2 separate regions of the Homo sapiens genome follow, and region 1 is linked to region 2. Evidence: promoter capture Hi-C in 16 types of primary human blood cells and fetal thymus (Javierre and others, 2016). All regions are on one chromosome and are shown on one strand. Each heading gives the region's core, a stretch centred on a gene start or on the middle of the fragment in contact. The rest is flanking DNA. Distances are from core to core; before and after follow the strand shown. Region 1 overlaps WDR64 (WD repeat domain 64). Region 2 holds the start of KMO (kynurenine 3-monooxygenase).

Region 1 (6,687 bases), core at 2,986-5,485, 230 kb after region 2:
TATTAGTCCTTTTTGAAAAATTTCTCGGTAGCATGTGATGCTGATAGCATTTTACCCACAGTAAAATTTCTTTCAAAAATTGGTGTTAATTCTCTTAAACCCTGCCTCTGCCCAATCATCTAAGTTTAGGTAATATCCTAAGTCCTTTGTTGTCATTTCAGCAATGTTCACAGCAGATTCCATCTCAAGAAACAACTTTCTTTGCTCATCCATGAGAAGCAACTCCTCATCCATTCAAGTTTTATCGTGAGATTGCAGCAAGTTACGCTTCGCTTCTAATTCTAGTTCTCTTGCTATTTCTACATCTTCAGTCACTTTCTCCACTGAAGTCTTGAACCCTTCCAAATATCTTTGAGGGTTAGAATCCTCTTCTTCCAAATTCCTGTCCATGTTGCTATTTTGACCTCCTCCCATGAATCACAAATGTCTTAATGGCATCTAGAATAGTGAATTCTTTCTGGAAAGTTTTCAATTTACTTTGAGCAACCAGATTTATCATAGGAACCACTATCTATGGCAGCTATAGCCTTACAAAATGTATTTCTTAAATAATAAGACTTGAAGGTCAAAATTTCCCCTTGATCCACGGGCTGCAGAAGGAATACTGTATTCACCGGCATGAAAACAACATTCACGTTGTACATCTCCATCAGAGCTCCTGGGTGCATTTTCAATGAGCAGTAATATTTTGAAAGGAATCTTTTTTTTTTCTGAGTAAAGTAGCTGTATATGTTGAATTCAACAACTTAATTTAACATCTCTTCAGAAAGCTATTTTTGTGATATGCTTACACCTCCTCAACAAGGCAGGCGCATGTGTGCATGTCTGAGGGATGAAGTGTTTGGGGCATATGTTTGAGGCTGAAGAATAGAGAATAAGAAAACTGTACCTTTTTGTTCCCATAAAAATTTAAACCAATTGTTTTTTTAACGAGGATCTTCACTAACTTTTTTGATTTACTCTAATATTATAGTACTCTAATCAAACCTTTTGCACTTTTCAGCTTTTAGAGAGATAAGTGGTCAGACACTAAAGAATGGAAGAAAACTGCAAGTTACAGCAGGAGCAATTGAGAAAAGTCTTCAGTTTTTTTCTCCCTGACATTAGCAAAACAACCATAATATAATTTATTTCCTTTTTTATTATTATTAACCATAAAGCTTCCTTGCAAAAAAAAAAAAATAGAATAATAATATAGCTGGTTTATGGAATTTGGAAACAATTATTTTGTCATAGAACGGAAACATACTGTATTAGTTTTCCTCATATTGAAACAAATGTCAGTTTGGAACTGCAATTTGAATGTCATTCATTGCTAGTTTAAATGATAAGTAGGTTTTATTCTTAGCTAAAAGCCCTTTAAAATCAATATACACAGTGACTATGTCATAATAACGTTATCATGTAATATGCACAAAAGACAGAACAAAATGCATGTCCTCGTAGACCAATTCTAGCCTACTTCCCTTTTCAACTCTACATATAATTGGAAACACTAGGTTCAATTATATGTATTTGATATATGAAATCTTATTTATAGCTAATAAAAACAGAAAGAAGATGACTGCACAGTGAGTCAGAACCAGGCAGTTAACAAATAATTGTGTAGGTACCAAAAAATGATTGCTTAAAAAAAAAAGAAAAACTATGGTGATAAATTATAAACTATTGAAACACAATAAAGTGCCTTGTAGGCTTTTAATGTAAATGTAAATTATCTCCAATTTTGAATCTTTATTTTTTGTAGTTATCATAATTATCATTATAGCACTTCCTTTTTGCAACAGACTTTAAAATTATAGATTGAAAGTTTGCAAAAGTCGGCCAGGCACAGTGGCTCACACCTGTAATCCCGGCACTTTGGGAGGCCAAGGCGGGCAGATAACTTGAGGTCAGGAGTTCCAGACCAGCCTGGCCAGCGAAACCTCATCCTTAATAAAAATACAAAAGTTAGCCAGGTATGGTGGCGTACGCCTGTAATCCTAGCTACGGGGGAGGCTGAGGCATGAGAATCACTTGAACCTGGAAGGTGGAGGATGCAGTGAGCTGAGATCATGCCATTGCACTCCAGCCTTGGCAACAGAGCAAGACTCAGTCTCAAAGAAAAGTTTGCAAAAGTCAATTAGGAAAAAAATTTGATTGTGCATGGAAATCCTCTCCCTAAAACTCTTTTATTTAGAAGCACTTTTTATTGAATACCTGCCACCGTATCATGCACTGTTCTTAGCACTGGGAATGTCAAGATTAATGAGGTATAGTACCTGCACTGTAGAAGTACAGCAGAGATCCTGGAGGGCTGGGGAGACGGGGAGGTTTTTGAAGAGGATAATTGCTGAATTATAGCTAAAGAACTATCAGGAGTTAGCTTGGCTCAGATAGGCAGTTTCTAGAGGATAGTGAAAAGACAGTGAATCTCAAGTGGAAGAGGTAATGTGAACGAAATAATGGAGGTAAAATATTGCATGGTTTGTGAAGGATAACTACAAGTATCTCAGTGTGGCTGGAGTAATACTGGGAGTAGTTAAAAATGAAGACAAACAAATAGGTAGGGACCAGACCATGCTTACAAGAATAAGGAGCTTGAGCATCCTATAACAAATGGAAGGCCATGGAAGGGCTTTAAATGAGAAATGACACGATCAGATTTGTGCTGTGGGCAGCTCATCTTTGATGCTGCCTGGATGACAGATTTGACAGGGACAGGACTAAAGGCAGAAGATTCAGGCAACAGGCTACTTCCTGTTTTAGTTAAAAGATATAAGGATGACCAGGCTCAGTGGCTCACACCTGTAATCTCAGCATTTTGGGAGGCCAAGGTGAGAGGATCACTTGAGGCCAGGAGTTCGAGGCCAGCCTGGGCAACATAGGCCCCATCTCTACAAAAAAATTTTTAAAAATTTAAAAAAATTATTTGGGTGCAGCGGCGTGCACCTTCAGTCAAGCTATTTGGGAGGCTGTGGTGGGAGGAGTGCTTGAGCCCAGGAGTTCGAGGTTGTAGTGAGCTATGATTGCACCACTGCAGACCAGCTTGAGTGACAGATCAAGATTCTGTCTCTAAAGAAATTTACAATGATAAAATAATAAAAGATATAAGGTCATGACAATGGAGATGGTGCAGAAGAAAATGTTCTGGTTTCAGAAAATATCTAGGCAGTAAAAGTAGCATAACTTGCAATTACACCATGCAGTTGGGAGAGGAGGGCACTGAAAGAAAGGAAGGAAAGAAGGACAGTTCCAGGATTTCTAACTTGAATGATGAACTGAAAAATAGCGCTAACCAATGAAATAAAGAATAGAGGACTGGGCACTATGGCTCATGCCTATAATCCCAGAACTTTGGGAGGCTGAAGTAGGTGGATTACTTGAGCTCAGGAATTTGAGACCAGCCTGGCAACATAGTGAGACCTTGTCTCTACAAAAAAAATCAAAACATTAGCCAGGCATGGTAGCACCCACCTGTGGTCCCAGCTACTCCAGAGCCCAAGGTGGGAGGATCGCTTGAGCCCAGGAAGTCGAGGCTGCAGTAAGCTGTGATCATTCCACTGTACTCCAGTCTGGGCAACAGAGGGAGATCTGTCTCTGAAAAAAAAAAAAGAATAGAGCAAAGAAACATGCCTAAAGGAGGTGATAAGTTACATATATTAACATTGAGATACCTGTAAAATGTCTAAGTAATTAAATATATAAGCCTGAAGCTTGTAGGAGAGGACTGGACTAGATAATTAGGTCACTAGCATTGAGATATTTGAAACATAATCTGAGATTCCTCAGAAACAGTTGAAAAAAAATGTATTTGAGATAAACCCCAAAAATATTAATATTTAAAAGACTGGCAGAGCAAGAGGGTACCAAGTAGGAAACAGAAAAAGAAAAGTCGCAGAGACACAGCAAAACCAGCAAAGCCTGGAGTCAAGGACGTCAGGAGAGTAAGGAGTTTCAGGAAGGGGAGAGCAACTGAGAGTGGTAATTGACAGTGGTAATAGACCTCTCCTCTTATTTAAATGTCACTCTTCTATGATCCTGTCAAGTTACATGCGTGCCTCCCTCCGATACAGCACTTTCACATTGCACTGTAATCAACACTTTGAGTACTTTAAAGTATTATGTTTCTCCAGATCACAGATGTCCTACTTGACTTTGTATTCCAAATATCTAACATAGTAGATATCTAACAAATATTTGAGGCAAGACAATTGAAAAAGATCTTAATGATAAATAGCTATCACAGGGTGTTATGAAGCAGAAGCCAATGAAATTTGCTGAGTGAAAGAAAAGTTGGTAAGTGGAAACGACGAACGTAGAATATTCTTTCAACAAGTTTGAAGGGAAGAGGAAGACGGGAAGAAAGTTGGGAAGAAAGAATAAATAAGGCTGAGAAAAAGCAGCCAGTAAACAGGAAGAGTATATATTTGTTGATCTAATGAATTCTGCCAGTTAAAAATTTTAGTGCAAGAAAAATAAGATTTTACTAAATTTCATGCTCTGATATTAAAAATATATATAATAAGGCATTTTGTTTTAAGTTGATGACAATTACAAAGTGTACACATGGCGTTTGCACCGCGAATCATGAATACTATATTTATGGTGTTCTGTTTCCTTCGTTCTTCAGAATCCCACCATGGATTTATTACGAGTGAACTGCATTGATTTACTACAAGTAGAAGGATATAATTTGATAGCAGCTGGAACCTTAAATGGTGTGATCATCTTATGGAATTTTGTGACGTCTACTGTCAAAAAAGTGTAAGTTGTGTATTATCCTTAAACAATGTAAAAGCTTTACTGCAGAAGGGCTCAGTAGCATGCAACACTCAGGGAAGGGCTGGGCGCGGTGGCTCAGGTCTGTAAACCCAGAACTTTGGGAGGAGGATCACTTAAGGCCAGGAGTTCGAGATCAGCCTTACCAACATGGTGAAACCCTGTCTCTACTAAAAATACAAAAAGTAGCAGGGCGCAGTGGCGCCTGCCTGTAATCCTATCTAATGGAGAGGGTGAGGCATGAGAATTGCTTGAACCTGGGAGGTGGAGGTAGCAGTGAGCTGAGATCACACCACCGCACTACATCCTGGGTGACAGAGTGAGTGAAACTCAGTATAAAAAAAAAAAAAAAAACCTCAGGGGACAAAAAAGCAATACATAAAAATGGTGATAACTTTCAAGGCAGGCGTTCCTGGAAGTTATATTCATGAATGGACTGTGTTCTAAGTGTCTAAATCCCAGGATGATATAAGTAAGGTGAACTGTAAGCATCTATATTCCCAAGAGCTTTGATCTTTACTATTCTCAACTAGTATATGCTTTTCATGTGTGATCTTGCCCAAATTTATGACCTCAACAAATAATTAAAATACATAACAACTTCAAACTAATCTCTCTAGAGCTTCAAACACACATAACCAATTGCCTATTGGCAATTTTCATCTGATTGTTACCAAGACCCTCAAAGCCCTACATGCCTGAAACATCTTCCCAACCTACTCCCCGCTCCCAAACTTCTCCCCTTCCTGTATCCCCAGTGCCACCACCATCTACTCAGCCACCAAAGTCACATGGTGAGAAGACTCCTGGGTAGCATATCCTTCTCATTCACCACCTCAACACGTCTGATTTATTACAGATTGGGGCTAACAAGGGCCAATGTTGTAGATGCAATTATTCCTCTCAACCAATTAGATTTACCCTGGACTATGGCCAAGATCTTACCCTCCCCATACCATCCACTTCTCAATGTTTTTTTTTTTTTGCATTTGTTGAGAAGGAACTAAAGTAACACTGAATGATTTGTTTGGATGGATTGTAAGTAATAAGTTCTCCCCAGCTGTGTAATTGGAACGTGTGCAAGGGCCATGTGTGGCCACCCTATGGCAAGGGGGTTTGGAAAATTTTACTTACAGATACAAGATGGCCAAGAACCTTAATAATAAATGAAAATAAAATCAAGTTTATCTAAGCATTTGGGGGACGGGAAGAGATATAAAAGAGGAGAGAAGGGAGAATTGGAAAGGACAGGAGAAAAGGAGAGGAAAATACAAAAGAAATGTCTGCCTCTCTCTTTACACTTCTTAACATACTGCTGGTCTGCCTGCTCCTTCCCATCCAAGCCTGAGTCATTTCTTTTAGCCAGTTTTTGAAAGGAAATAATCATTTATTGCTTGGACTATGGATTTCTTCTCTTTGAACCTTTAATTGAAATAGCTGTTTCTGCAGACCCCCCTTTCTGCACCTCAGTCCACATACTCCTGGATCCTGCCCCTGGAATTCCTGTCATCCTTCTGTTCCTTCACTTCAGCCCATGCCCCCAGCCTTTTCTCACACATTGTCTACCTGCCACTTGATACCTACACCTGTCTGCACTGCAAACTTCCCCTCCTTCTTGCTAATGCTTTCACGCTGTGTCAGCTTGTGTATGACTCTTTCCTAAGAAGGGAAATCAGATAGACTAAGAAGACCATTATCTTGATGCCACAGCCTAAAGAGGGGGGCAACACCCGTGATAATAATCCCACTTTAAAGGTGAAGATCCTCCTTGTTAAAGTGCCTTGTTATTTTGCCAAGGGATGCATGCATATCCAACATCCAATCAGAGGAAAACAACCAAGTATAGTGTGGGTCATACACAGTGTCCCTTTCCTATAGGCAGATGATTATATAAGACAATTGATTTATAATCAGTGCAGTATTTTG
Region 2 (7,364 bases), core at 3,966-6,465:
ACATTGAAAATGAAATGTGTCATGTGTTGTGGAAAAGGGTTTTGAACTTCTAGGCTTAAAGAGAGCAAGTAGCACAACGATCTCTAGTTTTATCCCATATGGGCTATGTAGATACCAAAGGAACAGCTATTCCTAAGACAGACCTCACTGATATTGCATACGGAGTGAGTGCTGAATCACCCATAAGCACAAGGCAGAAGCAAAATTAATCTTCTCTAAAGCAATACACTGATGCCTGAAGCCTCAAACTACTTACAAGTAGGTTTTTTTTTTTTTTCAACTACCATTTTGAGCACTCAAAGCTTAAAATGCTCACAGGGAAATTAGATAACATAAGTGTCTACAAACGATAAATAACCATCAAAACAAAGCCACAGTAGAAATTATCAGACACAGACCGTAAGACATTCATGTTTATTATGTTAAGTAATAAACATAAACTTGAGGATTTTGGCAAGGGTGCTGGAAACTAAAAATATTGTGGTACATATGAAAAATAAAATAAAAATTCCAGAACTAAAAAATTGCAATAATCAAAGTTAAGAGCATAATGGATGAGTTTATCAGCTGACTAGACAGTAGAAAAAAGAATTGGGAAATTCAATAATACATTAAAATACATAATGCATTAACATAACTATCCATAGCGAAGCACAAAAGGACAAGCAATGAAAATACAGATTAAAGGATAAGAGACAAGGGAAGAAACCAATCTCTATTAAGCAACCCAATGATTTCCTGCTAGGATCTATAAAAATAAATTTTTATGTAGATACATCTTAGTGAAACGACAGAAAGCCGAAGACTCAAGTTAAAAGATAAAGATTAAAGACTAGACTGGATTTTAAAACGTTCAACAGAATGCTGTTTACAAAGGCCACATAAGAATAAAAGAAAGTTGAAACCAAAAGGTTGGAAATGATATAATATGTAAATGCTAACCTAAATATAAAAGCTAATAGTACTATCAAATAAAGTTTAAGGCAAAAATAATTATTTGCTTCATAATAATAAAAGCTTTAGTTTACCAGTAATGGATAGCAGCTTTAAATGTGGATTGTTCCATATAGATAGAAATGCTGAAGAAACAGACAAATACCAATCACAGCGTGAGATTATTTAACATAACCTTTTTCAGTAATTGACAAAACAAGCATACCAAAAGTTAGCGAGAATACAAAAGTTTTGAACACATGATTAATAAACTTGACCTAATGGATATGTATAGGAAAATATATACATTAATTTCAGAATATATATATATATAATATATATATATTCTGAAATACTTGAATATATATATATTTCAAGTACACACAAAGCATTTACACAAATTTACCACTTTATGGCCATACAATGAGTCTTAACCCGTTTCACATGTTTGAAAATCTATAGCACATATTAGCTGGCCTCACTGGAATTTTGCTAAAAACCAATAACAATAAGAAAACTAGGATGTGCCATGCATTTGGAACTTAAGAAATAAACCTGTATTCCACCCTGTACTGGAGGTACTAGCCAGCATGGAAAGAATCATTCAATCAGTCAGTAGCAGGGGGAGAGAGAGAGAGAGAGAGAGAGAGAGAGAGAGAGAGAGAGAGAGAGAGAGAGAGAGAAACTACCATGATTGTGGTGAAGAGAAAAATCCACCATTCAGTCAACAGGAAAGAAAGACAAAAAGGAATGAAGGAAGGAAGGAAAGAAGGAAGGAAGGGACTGTCATTGCGATTGGGTGAAAAGAAAAATCAAAAAATCTACAGACAAAATCAATAGAATTAATAACTTTTGCAATGCTGCTGCATACAAGCTCACAAAATGGAAAATAATGTGTTTCTAAATACTATTAATAGTAGAAAATGAAATGAAAGATATTATTTACAATAAAATTTAAAAAATCAATTACCTAAACATAATAATAGGGGATCAAACCTCTACAGGGAAAGAATATAACTTTGTAAGCCTTGGAGATGACAAACAGATGGTGGGGAGGGGCATATCATATTCTGAATGGAAAGACGCAGTAGTCAAAATAGTTATTCTTTCCAGATAGATGTATAACTTCGAAGCAATCCCAGTCAAAAATCCCAACCATATTTTTATTTTAGGGATTTTTAAAATGGAATTAACAGGCTGATTCTAAAACAGATGGAAATACAAAGCACCAAGAATAGTCAATACATTATTAATGAAGGACAAGGTGGGTGAATTGATGAAGATATTAAGGATTGTATTAAAGCTATTGTAATTTGGCTTTGGAACTGGCATTAGTAGGTATAGTATGGGCAGTATAGACTATATGGAATGAAATAGAATAGAAACCTGGAACGAGACCCACACATATATGAACACTGGACCTACACCAAAGGCAATGCGGGAAAAGGAAAGTCTTTTCATTTATTGGTACAGGGAATATTGGGTATTCATTTGGAAAACAAATAAAATTTTGACATCTATATCACAGCATTCCAAAAACAAAAAAACTAACTCCATGTTGATCATAGACCTAAAAATGAAAGGTAAATTATAACTATTTTAGAAGTCAACATGGAAGAATATCCTCATGACCTCAAGATTATACAAAAAAAGTGATAAAACATGACATGAAAAACTCTAACCACAAGGGAAAAGAATGTATTAAATGAAGAATATTCTTTCATCAAAAGACACCACTAGGAAAGCAAAAAGGCAAGCCACAGAGTGAATGAAATGTTATTTGTGACATATCTAAGTACTAAAGTTCATATGCAATGGGACTCAAAAAAGGAAAAAAAAATTCCCACCCTCCCCCCCCAAAAATTAACACTACCTATACAGAAGAAGAAAAAGAAGTTGTGAATGAACAGGTAAAAATGTGCTCAACTTCACTGATAATCAAAGGACTGCAAATTAAAAGAACACTGAAATATAAAGCACATCTACCAGACTGGCAAAAATTAAAAATTCTTGGCAATACATACATTGGTGAGGATACAGCAGAAGACAAATTTTACACATTGTGTTAAGTAAAAGCTAATGCACTACTTTGGAATGTAACTTTCGTTTATTCAGAAAGGTTAAAAATATGCATAAACATGGCTGGGCGCAGTCACTCACATCTGTAATTCCAGCACTTTGGGAGGCTGAGGCGGGTGGACCACTTGAGGCCGAGTTCAAGACCAGCCTAGTCAACATGGTGAAACCCCATCTCTACTGAAAAAATACAAAAATTAGCTAGGCGTGGTAGCAGGCACCTGTAATCCCAGCTACTCGGGAGGCTGAGGCAGGAGAATCAGTTGAACCTGGGAGGCAGAGGTTGCAGTGAGCCGAGATTGCACCATTGCACTCCAGCCTGGGTGACAGAGTGAGACTCCATCTCAAAAAAACCCAAAAAACAAAAAACAAACAAAAAAGCATAAACAGCATATGAAACCTAGAGATACTCATACATATGTACATGACATTGTATACACAAGAGTGTTTATGGCAACACCATTATTCATGATATTAAAAATTTGGAAACACCCCAAATGTCCATCAACAGCACAATGGACAAATAATAAATGACGATAAAAATGAATGAACTGGAAAAACATGCAACAACACAAATGGATCTTAAGAGATATAATATTGAGAAAAAGAAGCAAGTTGTAAAAAAATAAACAGTATAAGTTCATTTATAGGAAAGTTCAAAAAAGTCAACACTAAACTATTTTAGGGATGCATCTATCATGGTACAATTATACATAAAAGCAAAGAAAGTTGGTATGGCAGTTACCTCTACGAAGGAGGGGTGATTAACAGGGGGCACGTTAGACTTCTGGGATTCTGGCAATATTCTCTCTCTGCACCTAAATGGTAGTTACATGGATACTTGCTTTACAGTAACTTATTATACTGTTCATTTGTGTTATAGTTCATAATTTTTAAAAGATTTTTTAACAATGATACATATTGATACTGAGGAATTGATACATATTCTCTACATATTGATATTGAAGAATTCTCAAGCTATATGTTGTAAAGTGAGAAATATGATGTGGAAAAAGTTTTTAAATGTATGTTTAAAAAGAAAGGAAGGAAGGGAATGAGAGAGTGAGAGAAAGAGAGAGAGAAAAGGAGAGAGAGGAAGAACAAGAAAGACATAATCAACGTGTAGAAGAATACGGTAACCCACACACCAAAACAGTTGTTGTCTTTGGGCAGGAGGAATAGGTGGCCAAGGGTCAAGGTTAGCAGGATTACTATTCACCGTGTACTCTTTTGTGTCTTTAATTTCATGCCATGTTAATGTATTACCTATTCAAAATAAATAAAATACCTAATCATGCTTATCCACAAGGGGTCACTATTGAATGCCATTTAACTCTAGTTCCTAACCAGGGAAAAAAACGTTCTGAATTCTTTATGTGCTTAACAGGAAGTGAAGAAACAACTTCATTTATGTTCTTATTTTACATTACACCACATCATGTTCCAGAAAACAATTGCCATTCGCAAATCATGCACAAAAGTATAACATTTAAAACGGAGTGAAAAAGACAAAAAAGTGAATAGATAATATGAAGTCGGGAATGAGTTTACAGAAGCGTTGTGTCAGTCATCTCCCCTAGTGGTAATTAGACTCTAAATTTTCGATTCTAAAATTAGATTCTAAATTTTCTAGCATCTGGGCTGAAAAAAAAAAGGGGAAGTATGGTCAGTTACACAATTCAAAATGTTGATCGGGAGAATATTAAGACCTTGCAGAGAATTTTCCCTGGTAGAGCCTGTTAAAAACAATCCATGAGGACCCTTTAGATGAAATTTTTGATTGGTCTTAACCACAAAAATGATCCACAGATGAATTATGAAACCATGTCATCTTACTCTCTAAGGGAGGTATAAGATGTTTTTGGACTTCAGATGAGAAGGGCTCCATTCATGGTTAATCATGAATGAAAACGAAACTAAGAATATATGCTGTAGAAAAAGAAGAAGAAAAGCCACAAGACTGCTTAAAAATTTCTGTGTCTTACACAGAAGATAGAAAAAATAGAGTGTCTCCAATTGGATGGATTTTTTAAAAAATTTGGTTATTGTAATGGATTTATTTTTTCTTAGAGCTGAGCTGATTGTACTTTGGCCAACTAATGGGTTAATACTGTCAAGGGAAATTAGCCCTGACTAAACATTGCCGCTGGCTCATGAATGCACTAGGCTTGGGGCAGTATAAAAACTCAGAGAAATCAGTGTGTAGGAGACACAGAAATCAGTGTCACTCAGTGACAGAAGCAACAATAATTGTGAAAAATACTTCAGCAGTTATGGACTCATCTGTCATTCAAAGGAAAAAAGTAGCTGTCATTGGTGGTGGCTTGGTAAGAATTTTCAGATGGATTACTATTGTTGGTGGTATTATATTAACTATTATTACTCGTAATGATTATTATTCGTCACTTCTGCAAATTGTTAATTTTCTTGTGAAAACTCTGATATTTAAATACAGCTATTTTGTTTATTTTTTTAATATTTTTATTTTCATAGATTTAATATAGTATGAGTTTTAATCTGTTCTTTTTCAGGAAAGGTATTTTATAGCCATTAAATACAAAGGTTTCTGTTTTCCCTCATCATTTTGGTTTAGGATTTGTTAAAAAGCAAAAATAATGCAAATTGAATTTGATTTTATCCCCAAATTGGCTATGTTTTTAGGAACAGGAATTAGTCTCAATATTCATTTTAATAAAAACATTTGTTCCGCTTTGTTTAATAACTCAGTTAATGCTGTCTAATGAGAATAAAAGGGTCAAGAAACATGAAGCTAACGTCAAAGTATCATGTTGAATGTTCACTAGTTATATGAGTAATTGGGAATAAGATTTATGTGGTCGCCTGACTTACTTGACTCTTCCAGTGGAGCACCTAAGACAGTGGAGTGAGGTGTTCACCTCTCACTGAGCACGTGACGTAAAGGTGCTGGGGCTTCCCCCATACCTAACAAGACGGAAGGAGAGGTCACTCTCTGCTTTCATAGTTATGGTGCCAAAGGTAGTTCTGTTTAACATGGGTCTGCTCCGATTCAACTTTGCTTTTTCCCATCTCAGCAGAATTTCTGTTTCAGAATACAAACATCCCAGTTAGTCAAGGTTAAATCATTTCCCTATCACCTTTGGTCAAATCATTTGGAGACTTTTCATTAATTATTCATATATCCACTCAACAAAAAATTTATTGAGGGCGTAACACTGTTCTAGGCTGAATATAGATGGTATATTTTATGCCACACATGTATTTATACAGTATATGCTGTCTTTTGTTCTGCCTTCCTTAGTGTCTTTTCCCCAAAGTGCTAGAACAGTTCTTTTAATATTTCTGATTCTAAATTTTCATTTAGAAATGCTATCACATGATGTGTTGGTCACTGGTTGGGACATGTGTCGTCACTGCTTCATACTAGGCTTGTGTCCAATCTGTCCTATCAAAATGTTGCACAAAATGAGAATTCATGTGTTCAACAAAATCTGATTACTATGTACCAATATTGTTTTAGGTAGTAGGGATGCGAGGGTGAGAATTCCAGAGAAGAAAAAGACAAGGAAGAAGAAAACAAATAAGACAATTTCAGTTAAAGAGAAGCACTATGAAAGAAACGAAAACAGGGTAGTGCTGTAGAGAGTATCTTTGGGAGTACCTGTTTAGAATGTGGTCAGGGACAGCTGCTCTGCTGAAGGGACATGTGACCAGAGACCTGAATGATCAGATAGAACTAACTACGTGAAGATCTTGAGAAAGAGCATTTCAGGCAGAGGGAACAGCAGGAAGAGAAACCCTCAGGCAATAATGAGCTGCCCAAGTTCAAGGAGCAGAAAGAAAGGCAGGAACTGCCTGAGGCCAGAGAAGAGTAGCTGATGAGGCCAGAAAAGCTGACAGACCAGATCTTGTAGGATCTTAGAGGTCCAGGCAAGAAGATCAGATTTTGTTCAAATTACAATGGGAAACTATTGGAGGATTTTAGGCAGGAAATTAAGTTGTGATTTTAAAAGGTCCCTTGGACCATTATGTGGAGAATGACTAGGAACATTTTAAGATGACAAGATAGACCAGTTAGGAGGCTGTTACGTTAGCTCAAGACTTGGACTAAGGTGGCAGCAGTGATGTCTCATTTTAAAAATTGTCTCTTAGAAATCCAAGGGAGAGATAACAAATATGTGATTGTATATATGGTTTTGGGGGGCATAAAAATGTGGGTGTCATCCATGGATTTCTCCCTGAATAACATGAGATTGTCATCATGTAACCACGTCATACATATGCTGGAAAATAGGAGACAAAAATTACTACTTGCGTATTAGGGAGCAACTAAAATTCCTCTGCAAAAGAATTCTATCCATCCTATTGTTCAAGTC

What was found. The method cuts DNA at HindIII sites, captures the fragments that hold promoters and counts their contacts. A CHiCAGO score of 5 or more calls a contact.
Region 1: a fragment that was not itself captured here is called in contact with the fragment with the promoter of KMO in region 2 in 1 of 17 cell types (monocytes); the score reaches 6.1 in monocytes.

The regions. Positions count from the first base shown.
Region 1 is chr1:241,761,606-241,768,292 of GRCh38, forward strand. WDR64 (WD repeat domain 64) reads left to right here. Exons shown (of 28, transcript NM_001367482.1): 16 at 4,613-4,746. Among named protein-coding and RNA genes, the nearest start is that of EXO1, 83 kb to the right of the region's middle. The HindIII fragment of the contact is 1,085 bases long and covers 3,694-4,778 here.
Region 2 is chr1:241,527,163-241,534,526 of GRCh38, forward strand. KMO (kynurenine 3-monooxygenase) reads left to right here and starts at 5,216. Exons shown (of 15, transcript NM_003679.5): 1 at 5,216-5,336. The coding sequence starts at 5,283. RefSeq lists an enhancer at 4,799-4,948. The HindIII fragment of the contact is 7,761 bases long and covers 1,016-7,364 here.